4 separate regions of the Homo sapiens genome follow, and regions 1, 3 and 4 are each linked to region 2. Evidence: promoter capture Hi-C in 16 types of primary human blood cells and fetal thymus (Javierre and others, 2016). All regions are on one chromosome and are shown on one strand. Each heading gives the region's core, a stretch centred on a gene start or on the middle of the fragment in contact. The rest is flanking DNA. Distances are from core to core; before and after follow the strand shown.

Region 1 (2,955 bases), core at 169-2,668, 740 kb before region 2:
TTGAATTTAGGAATGACCATTTACTTTGGCCAATACAATCTGCATGGAAGTGACCCATCTAAGAGCTTGAGAAGCCAGCTCTTGAGAAGCCAGGGTTCAGCATGTCTCTTTGTCCTCTGCCACCAGGCTGGCAATGCCCAGATAGAGGATACTCCCTCAGCCTGGGTCCTGGAGGCAATGCAGTATGCAGCAGACCTCCGAGGGTGGAACAGCTGCATGAGAAATAAACCCTTGCTATGTAAGCCACCAAAACATGGGGCCAATTTGTTACCGCAACATAATTTAGCTTAACTGACTGAATCAGATGGGAGGTCTGTATGCATGTTGGTCTAAAAGCCTTTGGTTCCAAAGCCTAGCTCTCCCACAAATTTGCTGTAGCAGATTAACTGACAACTTCTTCCTGTCTCATTTTCCTTCTCTATATTACTTCTCAGGTATTTTGTGAGTATAAGGTGAGATAATTGTCTTGACAGTAATTTGAATTGAATAAATTTGAAAATCAAGATGCTGAACAAGCTTCCCGTGCACAGAAGTTTTTGGTCAAGCCTTTTGCCCTCCAACAGCAGGTCAGAGTAAGTTTAATGAGTACCTTAATGAGATTCACAAAATTTATACTGGTATGAAGACAGTACTCAAAGAGATGAGATAACTAAAACAGCATGAAGTCTTAAGTAAACCCTGGCTTTTAACAGACTCTTCTCCTGTTTTCATAAAATCCAATGAGTTTTTAATTTCCTTTTTGGAGAACACTGATTGCCACTTGAAGTCCAAGGTGGAAAGAGTCCTACCATCTTCCCCCCCAGCCCCACCACACTCTTCAGGACTCAGTTGCTTAGGTCTAAGAAAATAATAACTTCTAGTTCTGAATCCTGAGGAAAGGCTCAATGCATAAAACTGGGCAGAGGAAGATCTAGCATTGTCGTTGTCATATGTTGTCACTGGACTCTCCTTCTCTGTGTCCTCTGTCAGTCTTCATTTCCTCTATTCTTTAAGGGTTCAATTTGGGCATGAAAGGAATCAACTCCCCTGATCGTTTCTCAACTCTCCTATTGAATCCTGAAGAATTAGTAGTCTGCAGATTTTCTTTGTCTTCCTTCAACCAATTTCAAGGATCTGAGATATCTTAAGTTATGGGCAAAGGGTGGATGGAATATAAAGCATTTAAAGAGCTACACAGTAAATACATGCCTATAAAGAATGCACTGCACAACTGAGTCTCTTCCCACCTCCTCAGCCTCTTGTCTGTCCACTCTCCCTACCCAACCCTAAGGCTGACGTTCCTGCTACATTGGATTTCTTAAGAGTCTCTCCCTCACTTCCAGAGCTTGGCACATGCTGTTTCCTGGGCTTGGAACACTTCCACAACCACCTCCCCATCTCCCTTTCCTTGCTAAATCCTATTGCTTACTCAGCCTATAGAGAGATTTCATGAGAGCAGCAAAGACTGCAGTCAAGTACTCACCAACATAATTTCAGCACCTGCATATAGAAGGTACACAAGAAATGTCTGATAAAACAGGTGGGTTGGAAAGGCAAGAATGAGTACTGATGTGTTAGGGTGTTGAGGATTATTTTGTTTTTCAATCTCTAACCTATCCACATTATTGTGCCTCAACTTCTATAAGAGAAAAAAAATCAATTCTTCCCAAAGGAATGTTATTATCAAAAACAAGTAGGTAAATTTTAATGTTATGCTATATATATTTTCATTTCCTTTTTGTACAATAAAAATGCAAAAAAAAATAAATAAATAAATAAAAAAGAAATCACACACAGACAAGAACAAACAAAGCTCCCACTTGTCAGAAAAATGGTCCTTTTAGAATATGGTCTCTTTCCCACCTCACCACCTCAGCCTACCCCTCTCTCAATGTTTCACACTCCATCCTACCCAGTCACAGTTCAGCAGGTGGGCAGAATGTGTCCACAGAACTGGACTTCCTGTGCCATTTGGCTTGAGCGATGTGCTCACACTCATTGGCGTCGATCCTAAAAAGAGGTGGCTCTGGTGCCTTGGCTTTGTCATATCAGGGAACAGACTCCTGATTTCTATCTCAGGTCAAGCCTGGAACAATGTGAATTTCATTTTAGATCGCCCAGCAAATTCCTTTTAGAAGTCTGTCTCTATTACCTTAGCCCAAGTATTGTTTTTATGTTCAACAGCTGCTGCATTGATGGGCTGCCAGCAGGCATGAGTGGGTCAGGGGAAGTATTGTTATTTGAGAGTTTTCTGTCAATCCAGATTTTTAAAAAGGGGGCGGGGGAGGTTATCAATTATATTGTAAAGTAGATCTCCTTGGAAAAAAGTATAGAAGCTTTAGATGTGTTGGGTTTCATTTAAATAATGGTTCAGCTTTGCTAACCCCATTTGAGACAGGTCTAGCTAAGACTATGAAAGATGGATCCCAATAAAATGATAAAATCCAAGAGCAGCGTCTATCCCCAACCAAATTTAGAGTCCTATAAAGAGAAACACAGGCACAGAAAACTCTGTGGGCTGCGCCACAGTCTAAATCCGATGATCATGATCAGTGTGACATCATCATTGGGTAGAATATAAACACTTGGTCTGCTGGCAATCAATCAAGTAGGCCATCCAAATCAAGGAAACAGCAGAGTCCCACAATCATTTGTTCCTTTTGCAGACATAGGATGGCCCATGCCCAAACACTAAGCATCCACTTCCTTCATTTTAAGAGTATTATTCAAATGGTCACACAGGACTCATTCAGGCACACAGTTTGGTTTCTAGGTGGCAGTTTATACAAGATGGGTTATGTCTGCTCAAAAAAGTGGTGAAATAGACTAAACACCTAAGAACTATTATATCAGGATAGTGGGTTATGGGCAGTTTTGTTCTTTTAATCAATTCCTTGGGTCTCCTTTTCACTGTAATGTAGACACATCATTTTTAAAGATGATAATTTAAAAGATAAATTAATCTATAACTTTCGA
Region 2 (3,211 bases), core at 195-2,694:
GTGTAAAATGAGGATAATACACTATAGTTGCCAAGAAAATGTACTTCTTGGATCTTGCAGTGTAGATAGCATAACTGACCAATGGCTCCGCCTCAACTGCTGAGCTCTGCTGAAATCCATACCCTGATATTTATCCCTAGGTTGCTGCAAAGGCCAGCTTCCTAAGGCTGCTCCCAGCTCATGACTGAGCACAGCAGGGATACTAAGGCGGGCCTCTTTCTGGGAGATGCCAGACTTCTGGGACAAGCCCATTTGGCTAAAGGATTCCCCACCCCAATGGCCTTGCTGAACTTTTTATACATGGACTGTATATATATCAAATGCTTCCTTCCACCCAACCTTCCTTCCTTGCTTGCCTCTTTCCTTCACAAGGATCACACCTGCATCCCAGGTCCAGCTCCCTGTTTTCCCTCAAAACTCTCTTGCATAGTACCCCCATCTGGGACTGTTTCTGGAGGACTGGGACAAACACAACCTCCTATTCATAGGACTGCCAAGGGTATTAAATGAGTAGAACTGTGCAAAGAAACTAGTAAAGGGCTGGCGTAGAAGAAACACTCATTTAACGAACACTTCTTGAGTCCTGGCTGTGTGCAGGTCTTGGTCCTGGGTGTCTGGGACACCACAGTGAGCAAAGCAGGCAAGAACACCAGCGATGCCTGCTTTAAGCTCCTTCCCAACTTCCACATCTTTAACAGGATACCAAGAGCCCTTCAAAGTCTGACCTCTTGGGGCCTCAACACCTCCGACTCCACCCCCTGAACACCTGAGCCTACAGTCAAAAGGAACTTCCTTCTTGCTTCCTACAGGTTTTGCTCTTTCACCCCCAATGCCTTTGCTCACCGTTTCCTTCTCCGTGAAATGCCTCCTCCTCCCTTTTTTGCACATCTTCCATTCTTGCACATGCCCCTTACGTGACAAACTTATGCATCCCCCAGGCCCCAGTTCAATGTGGGGCCCTAGGTCATCCAGGCAGAACATGCTTGCTGGCATGATCTCAGCAGGCACCTGGTAGAAGCACTTGCTACATTGTGTTGTAATTGCGGTAACGGTGTCCCCGCTAACTTGCGAGCGCCTCTAGAGCAGGGGAATGTCCCAGCCACCTTGAATCCCCAGCGCGTGGCCCATGGGAGGCCCTCAGACCTATCTGCGGAATGAGTAAATGAGTGTGTGAACCAGGTTCGGCAATTTCGGTGGGGCGAGCGCTGGGCCTGCGGTGCAGGGCGCTGGGAGCGGCCAGGCCGGGCCTGGCTCAGGCGCCGCAGCCACTCAGGGCCACCGGGGACCGGCCGGGGAGGGCGCGGGCCGAATCACTGCCGCCGCCGCAGGGCACATGACTGCGGCCTCCGCCCCCGCCCGCCTCCCCGCGCAGTCGCCGGCGGTTGCCTCGCGGGGTTGCGGCGAGCCCGGCCCGCGAACGTCACGTCCCTGCGCGCTCCCTGCACTCTCCCGAGCTGCGCTAGGCGGGCGCCACGGCTGCCCGGCGAAGGAAACCGAAACCGAGTCCGGGCCCGTCCCTCCGCGGCCCCATCCGCCCGGTGCACCCGGGGCCGCGCTCGCCAGGCCGCGGAGCCCAGAGCTGCGCGCACGAACCGTGCGCCGGGAGGGCGTGGGCGTGGCGCCGAAGGGTCCCGGGTCTTCGACGCCTCTGCGGCGGCTCCTCCCTCCTTGCAGTTGGATCCCTGGCGGGTGCGGCCCGGCCCGGCCCGTGAGCGGCGCACAGAATGGGCCGATGCTGCTTCTACACGGCGGGGACGTTGTCCCTGCTCCTGCTGGTGACCAGCGTCACGCTGCTGGTGGCCCGGGTCTTCCAGAAGGCTGTAGACCAGAGTATCGAGAAGGTGAGGCGGGGCGGGCTGTGTGTGTGTTGTGGAGTCGTCCAGCTCACCCTCCCATCCCTGCTGCTACATCTTGTATGGGAAAGACCAGCACTCAGGCAGACCCTCCGCGCTAGAGCTCTTCTTGCGTCCCTGTCTTCCAGGGCTTGGTAGGCGAGGGTTAAAGAAGGATGAGGAAGGATGGAGCCGACTCTGTTCCCTTTACAGTGATAAGTAAGGCTATGGATCCTGACTTTTAAAAAGGCCTTCGGTTGTGTTCTGTCGTTTGCATCTCTCCCCACTCCTTCCGTCTACACCCCAATCTCAGGTGGGCCCAAACTTGTTTCCTTCCCACTTCATGAAGAAACAGAACTGAATGAAAGACACCGCAGAAGAGGCAGGTTATGTTGTCTGCTTGCTGTAGCCTTTGAAGTGGTGTGCGCCTGGGGATGAGACGTGGGTGTGCGGTCTATTGTGTTCTTGCCCTCTTGGGCTGGGCAGGGGCAGTTGGTAGCTGGGCCAGTCCTTTAGGCTGGGTGACAATTCATCCATCAGTCTTTGCTGAACGCTGACTTAGTGGCTTTGTATCTTGTACCAACAGTCTGTGTTGCTTTGTCTCACCATGAATTCTTGTTTTTCTCAAACGGCCATAATTTTCAGGCACAGATGCATTTAGATACCCTACAAGAATCTGAACTTGTCTCTTCCTCTAGATGATTGGGCTGGAGAGCCAGTCCTTTAAGAAGACTTCATCTTTTGATTTCACTGGTCATTTCATCTGCCCTTTCCCCCACATCCACCAAGCTGTGTCAAAAGAGGAACAAAAGAGAATTACTGGGATCATTTTTTCCTTAAAAAAGAAAAATAATCACTGGAGCAGCAGCCTTTCTTGTTAGCATCCATAACTGCACGCTTCATTTCTCCCACTGGTCTGCACTTGCTGCGGCCAGATAAAAAAGCCCAGGCCTAGTCTACTTTGAATCACTGCACTCTCCAGTCAGTAAAGCTATTTTATTCCAGGTGGCAATGGATATCTTCCTTTAACTGAGTTTCCAAAAGTAATTAAGTGAGTACCTGAAATCTGGCAGTTAAAGGCAGTTTTTCAAAAAGCACCATGGCAAAGCATAATGTAATTTTTAAAGTTCACATTGCCAAGGGAAGACAAGGCCCACTGTCTGAGCGTCTCGAGGGTCAGTTTCCTTTGAGCAATCATGTTCAAGGAAAAAAGAAACTGAATCCTTTCTCCACTCCTGTCCATGTCCAAATCCATGGTGAGCTGTGTTTGAGGATGTAAACTCTTGCTTTGGGTGACTAGAGTAAAGCAATCCAATTATAGTAAATATGTGAGTTTTCTTATATGGCCTTGAAAGGCTGTTTCAAGGAGCCCTATAGGA
Region 3 (3,175 bases), core at 509-3,008, 760 kb before region 2:
GTGTTTGCTCTCAGGAAATAAACTATTCTGCTAAAGTTCACAAGTATAAAGCTCTTATTTTATACATATATGGCAGGCATTATGCTGAGTATTTTACATAGGTCTCATTTACTTCTCACAATCGCCTCTGAGGTGTGCACCGTTATTATTCCCATTTTACGGTGGAGGTCAGTGAAGCTCTAAGAGATTAAGCTGCTCAGGGTTGTGCAGCAAGTAAGTGGTAGGGCCAGGAGTCAAAGCCAAGCAGGCTTCCTCCAAAGCCCAGGCCACTACATTAGTAGAGCCTGGGAGTCTAGAAAAGTTACCTCTGGTCAACCTTTTATAAACCAGAGAGTGATGTGTGTGTTGGCCATCAAGGGACATGCGTGGCCCACCCAAGCACATCACACTACAGAAGTCACCAACTTCCAAGGTGAGAAATCGCTGGAGAGGTAGGTTGTCATGGTGCACAGGCCCTATTCCACCAAGTAAGAGCACACAAGGAAAGCAACGTGGGAGCTACGGGAAGTGGGAACAGCAGGAAACAAGAGAAGGAAGAATCCAAGAAGAGACCTCCACCACCAGCTGCTGGAGTGGATTTCTTATATTTCTCACAGAAAAGAAGCAGAGTAAGTCTAACCCAGAGAGTACAGATTAAGGTTAGGCAGCCTACAGCAATCACTCTTACTCTCTCTCACACTCTTCTAAGAGCAAGGATTATCAAGTCTCCTTTCTTACTTTTCTCTGGCAAAGCTGTAAGAATTAGTTGCAGAGAAAAATCAACCAAAGCTTACATAGAAGTTGCAAAGAAAAACAAGAAAGGATGCAGTTAGCAGTCCTGACTGATTAAAACCACATGACTAACATATCAGATATTCCCACCACTTCCTCCTTAGCTTCTTATAGACTACTGAGGAGCAAACACACATATGCTTGTATTACCAAAAACAAACAAACAAATAACCTTTCGGTAGTATGGGCTAGAGAAGAAATATTTTCTGTATCTCTACCTAGTATGTGCAAGGAACTGGTAAGCCATTTTATCAACTTAATCATCCTAAAAAAAAAAAAAAAAGACGAACCTTTTGGGATAAGAGGACATCCCCAGACTCACTCCTTCATCCTTTTTAGAAAGGCTAAAAATGCTCATTACCTGGTATTAAAATTAGACTAATGAAAAAAAATATTGATTTACTGATGAAACTCCATTATCCACTTCTGAGCTTATATTTAAAAATAAGTCTTTAAAAACTAGCAATACTTTTACTCTCAGGAAAACTAATATTCATTATTCTAAAGCCTACCCTGAGCTAGGCATTAGTTGGTAATTTCACTTGTGCTGTTTCACTTAATAAATACAATATTTACTTAGACCCCCATTTCTGAAGGCATTTTAATTACACTCACATTCCTTTACATGCACTTCTCTGCAACTTGCAATTTGGAACAAATGTTCAACCACTAGCCACCATGGCAGCAACATAAAATACCTGTTTTGTTGATTTCCTAACAATCCATGAGGTAATTACAAATAGTTTACTCAGGCCCTTGGAAACCATGTTCAGATATCATCTACTTAAGCAGTAATATTTTTGTAAGTGTAACAAAGGGGAGAGCATTCTAAAATCAAACTTTAAAAAATTCAAAGTCACATATTATTTACTGCCATATTCTCTCTCTCTTGAGCTTTTTACTATGGTTTAAATTTCTCTCCCACCAAAAATGCTTTCTTTAGAACACTATACTCTTCTTTCTCTACCTCATTCCATGTTATATTGTGTAGCTGGGCTTATCTACCTTAAGGCAAATAAGGAAAAAAACATAAAAACTACTTTAACCATTATATTCCATAGCTAAACATCCATCAGGGCTTCCAATCCTATTTCAGCTAGGTTGGCTATAAGTGACAGGGACCACCACTTCTCTGGTTTTCAGTATCATCATCTGTAACATAGATGGGTGGAGAAGGGTCATTGAGGAAAGGTACATAAACTCTAGTTGTTAAATTACGGGATTCTAACATTTGCAATGGGATAAAAGATTAAAGGCTGCCAGAGCCTATGTCAGAGTGGGTATCAGACTTCAAATAAAACCTCACTAGAGGTATTGGGTCATCAAAACAAAAGTCTAAAATGCTGACGCCAAGCAAGAAGATACTACAGAGTGGGATGGCTCCCAACATAAGTCAAATAGCGGGTTACCCTTTCCAAGAAGTGCAACTTTATGATTGTTTAGATACCACAAAATCAGCCTATTATCTAGTGGAAAGGAGAACAACCAACGAGTCTTTGAGGGCCAGGATCAATGTGACATAGAAGGCTTAGAACGGTTGAAAGCCATTGTCGTCTGACAGTCAAACATTCAGACACCAAGAAATCTCATCACTCTAGTCCCAAAGTTGAGCTTGCAAGTCTCCAGTTCTGTGTATTCATGCAGCAATTAGGGAATCACAAGCCTTGGATCTTATGTTAACACAAGTATAGGAAGTGAAAAATAATTCTGATGGGTGAGCCAGGTATCAAAAGGGGTATTTTAAAAAACTGGTCCTAGAAAGATGCAAGAGATACAAGCCAAAAAAAAGCAGAAAATGTTGAATACAAAATACAGTATTTACTGTTTCCTCAAGTACTAAAAACCAGAGGTTTCTTTAAGTATATAAGTAGATACCTCATAATCTTTTACAACATGTCCTTACCATGTAAAGAAAATAGAACAAACACTCACATACCCAACACCCAGCCCAAAAAACAACACATTAACAAAAGCTTTGAAGCCCCATGGTATCCTGTGAGATGGCATCACTCTCCCTCTGTACTGGAGGTAAACACTATCCTGAATTTGCCTTAAACTCTTTTCTTGTTTTTCTTTATAGTGTTACCTTATACACTACTATCAGGACACAGTCACTAACTTCAAAATAACAAAAGTGCTTACTTCCTTCTCCAAGTTATCTGTAGGAAATTCAGAACTCCTCCTTAGAGAAGACTGAAGGTAAAGATACAGAGAGTAGATGAGTTACTTTAAAGAAAGTGGTTCTCAAAATTTGGTAAGAGAATCCTTGGGTCCTCCCCAAGAACCTTTTAGGGGTATATAAGTTCCTCCTTTTCCAACCACATACCTATGTGAGGTTGGATCTTCAGGTACTTCAACCAAAAGAATACGCTGCATCAGAGTGAATGAAATACAGATCTGATGA
Region 4 (3,302 bases), core at 95-2,594, 530 kb before region 2:
CAAACCTTCCCAAAAGCTTACTGATAATGTTCTTGAAATTTATTCAATAGGAAAAATATGTATATAATAACCACAATAGTTATGTGGTGAGAGTAACTTTGTTTTATTTTTTACTCATCATAACTACAAATAAGGCAGATGATGAAGAGGATGCAAGGAGCAGACCGCCTTGCCATGAGATGCTTCTCCAGTCAGCTAAGGTCTGGCTGCTGTGCAGGAGACCAGGAGAGGGAGGAAGCTCAAGAATGCAGTCCTGGCACAGTGACAATATAAGAGACTATGCATTGTTCAGAAATTTCAGTATTTGTTGGAGCAAAGCAGTACAAAAGAAGTATTTCATTTGGAAATATTTCCCTCTCTGCCTGCATATTCCCCAAATTAAATAACATCTAAATATGGCATTCCCTTTATGAAAAGGGTGCCCAAGTACTGTTTTGTATTCACTTGTCTTTCTAAAAAGTTTTCCAAATAATACAAAGTATTTAATTGGGATTTGGAGGAATCTCTTCACTTCTCCCAACGCCTATGTTTTAGCTTTATTTCTTAATCAACCAGGCTTAAGAAATATTTGGGGGGAAAGATAAAATAACATTCATAGCCATCCAACCAACCTCTAAGACAAAATAACAATATCTAATGGGGAATAAACAATAATGATTTGGTTTTCACCTAAGCATTTTTATTTTCTTTGAAACACGGGGAGAGAAAGGAAGGTGTCTAGACTGCTATGCAGTTAAGTTGCTAAAATCCATCAAGCTAAATGAAATTGTGTGTTACATATATGGATTTTAAATGTGTGTTAGTGGTAGGATAGGGAGTGGGAATTAGCTCTGTTCATTCTGAAGGAAGGAAAAGGCTACTGAAGGCTTATGGGAAGTTGCCTCTATATTTGTCGGGGATTTATACTGGGAGAAAATATTTCTGTACAATTCTAAACAGAAAACATCTGGGAGGGGACGGTATTTTCTCTCAGAAGGAAACAGGCAAGAGTCTGATGTGCACTTAAGCTCCATCACTAGTATCTATTGTTCTGCAATGAAGAGGAATTAAAGGAGAAGAAAATAGAAGGTTGCATGTTTCAGAGAGGATTTCAAGCTGGCTGAGGAAGAGGCCAGACCTGCCAAATATATGAGAAGGTCTCAGGCTACAAGTAGTTCAAAATGGTAGCCTCCTGCAGTCATTATTTCAGGCCAGAGATGGATCAATCGTCACATACAGAGGAACTGATTTCCATGATGACTTTGTTTTTGGAGGCAGAAAGGCCTCCCTAATGAGAATTTTGAAAAAGAGCTAAATCCTTGTCAAAAACTTGTAAAATCCTGCCCTATAAGCATCTGACTGGTAAGAGCAAGTAGCATTTGTTGCTGTATGCGTGTGATAGAGTGCAGCAAACTTCTCAGCCAGAACTGCTGAATCTTTCTTTGTCTGAACTGGTTTCTTCCCATCAATGCATCCCCTCTCCCCTAATCTCTTGTCATCATGCCCATCTTTTACATCCTGGCCCAAAATCCCATTTCCCTTCAGGAGAAGCACTTTCAGATCACCTCAGAATTAATCACTTTCCTTTCCATAGCATATTATTGATCACTATTCCCAAAGCATTCACTAGTCATATTAGATTTATACATATAAGGTCGTATTCCTTGCTTAACTGTGAACTCCAGAAAGGCATGAGCCTTATTTTTTCCTTTTGTGTATCCTTTGATGCTGTAACACAGCATTTTTCATACAACACATGCTCTACAGATGCTTGCTGAATGGCTGACTTCTCTGAAAGGGAAAACAGCAGAATCTGAGAGGGGAGAGTGGAGCGGAGTTCTTCCTCCCCTGTGCTAACAGGTATGTGATTCCTATTATTGTCTTTGGTGGGAAGGGAAGCATGAGGCAGGCCCCTGGTCTACAGTGGAAGTGAAGCCTGAGGATAGGCTAAGAATTAGGGAAATTAACAGGCTCCTAGGAGTCAGAATGCTCAGCTTCTATTCCCAGCACTGCTTAAAATTTTCAGGGGAAAGTACTTTATAATCCTTGCAGCATTTGGTGCCTTTATTAGAAAATCCTTTTATGTGAGATTTTGAGTTTCTTATTTTCTCTCCTCACCAGGATAATGCACAGAAAGAGCTGAGGTGGGAGTCCGAGAGACAGGGGTCTGACATGTATAATATACTCTGCTGCACAGGATTATCATGAGGGTTAAATGAAATAATAAATGTAGATTACACTTAGCTCAGGACCTGCCACACACTTAGCTGAGGGCCAGGAATTCAATAACCAATGACTATCAATGTCAATCATTCTAGCTATTTTGTAGATGCAAAGTCCAATAGAAACAGAAAGGGTGCAAAGCTAAAACTTTTAAAATACTCAGACCCAGACTCTAATCCATTAAAAAAAAAAAAGCAAAAAACAAAAAAGATAATCCCTAATTTTTCTTAACCTTGCATTTTTCCATTGAGAGGTGGTGACTTCCTAAAATGGAGGTAGACAGATAGATAGAGAATCTGTATAACAACATACGTAATCTAGATACCTATATCTTTATAAGGAAACCAGGTAAGGGACACTTGAGAAACTCAACTCATGAAAACAAATGCTACTTTTCTGTAATCACAAGGAAAACTGAACTGGGAGAGCGGGTGAGAGTGTGGGGGGTTGGGGAGCCCCACTAAAGCTTCTAGGGAGGAAGGGACAGTTCGAGGCCAGGACTTGCTGGTTGCACGTACCTGGCGCTTGTCTGCGGTGGCGGGAGATGACCTGGACCTCACATGGACAGGGCCCGCAAGGACGTCCGAGCGTTCCAGCAGGTCCTCGGCCGACATGGACTTCCCGGCCCTGGCCCCCCAGGAGGATGGCTCCCTGGGGGTCTCATCCCCTCTCTGGGTGCCCCTTGTTCCACCGTTTGCTCCGCTAAGCAGGTCCCCGCGTCGCCGTTCCCCGAGGCGGCGGCCACCGGCGAAGGAGCTGCTGCGATCTCGGGGAGCCTGCTGGGTTTCTGCAACTGTGGCCGGCAGGAGCGTGGCCTCCCTGCGGGGCTGCAGGCTGGGCTCCCGCAGTGAGCTCAAGCTGGAGGCCGAGGCGAGGCCGGAGCCTTCGAGCGCCGCGGGGCCGGGCTGGAGGTAGGCACTCTGGGCGCGCTCACGCAGTGGCCCGGGCTCCTGGAGGCTGCAGCCGGCGGCGGAGGTAGGCCGCTTGCCGGTCTTGCGCTGGATGTAGTCCGCCAGGGCGCTCTGCTGGAACTGCTTCAGCTCGGGCCCCGACAGGCTGAGCGTGGAGCAGGCCTTGCCATCGCGCTCGAAGAGACGGCG

What was found. The method cuts DNA at HindIII sites, captures the fragments that hold promoters and counts their contacts. A CHiCAGO score of 5 or more calls a contact.
Region 1: a contact is called between a fragment that was not itself captured here and the fragment with the promoter of SCARB2 in region 2, in 1 of 17 cell types (M2 macrophages). The highest score is 5.6, in M2 macrophages.
Region 3: a fragment that was not itself captured here is called in contact with the fragment with the promoter of SCARB2 in region 2 in 2 of 17 cell types (M2 macrophages and M1 macrophages); the score reaches 5.4 in M2 macrophages.
Region 4: a contact is called between a fragment that was not itself captured here and the fragment with the promoter of SCARB2 in region 2, in 1 of 17 cell types (M2 macrophages). The highest score is 5.0, in M2 macrophages.

The regions. Positions count from the first base shown.
Region 1 is chr4:76,953,772-76,956,726 of GRCh38, reverse strand. All of the region lies in intron 1 of SEPTIN11 (septin 11), which reads right to left. Among named protein-coding and RNA genes, the nearest start is that of SEPTIN11, 5.5 kb to the right of the region's middle. The HindIII fragment of the contact is 1,799 bases long and covers 519-2,317 here.
Region 2 is chr4:76,212,057-76,215,267 of GRCh38, reverse strand. SCARB2 (scavenger receptor class B member 2) reads left to right here and starts at 1,444. Exons shown (of 12, transcript NM_005506.4): 1 at 1,444-1,841. The coding sequence starts at 1,725. It also overlaps a transcript of FAM47E not described here. RefSeq lists silencers at 1,106-1,725, 1,639-2,043. The HindIII fragment of the contact is 5,631 bases long and covers 1-3,211 here.
Region 3 is chr4:76,975,606-76,978,780 of GRCh38, reverse strand. All of the region lies in intron 1 of SEPTIN11 (septin 11), which reads right to left. Among named protein-coding and RNA genes, the nearest start is that of SEPTIN11, 27 kb to the right of the region's middle. The HindIII fragment of the contact is 1,976 bases long and covers 771-2,746 here.
Region 4 is chr4:76,741,345-76,744,646 of GRCh38, reverse strand. It overlaps SHROOM3 (shroom family member 3), which reads right to left. Exons shown (of 11, transcript NM_020859.4): 5 at 2,721-3,302. SHROOM3-AS1 (SHROOM3 antisense RNA 1) reads left to right here. Exons shown (of 3, transcript NR_187405.1): 2 at 1,747-1,839. Among named protein-coding and RNA genes, the nearest start is that of SHROOM3-AS1, 59 kb to the left of the region's middle. The HindIII fragment of the contact is 2,652 bases long and covers 19-2,670 here.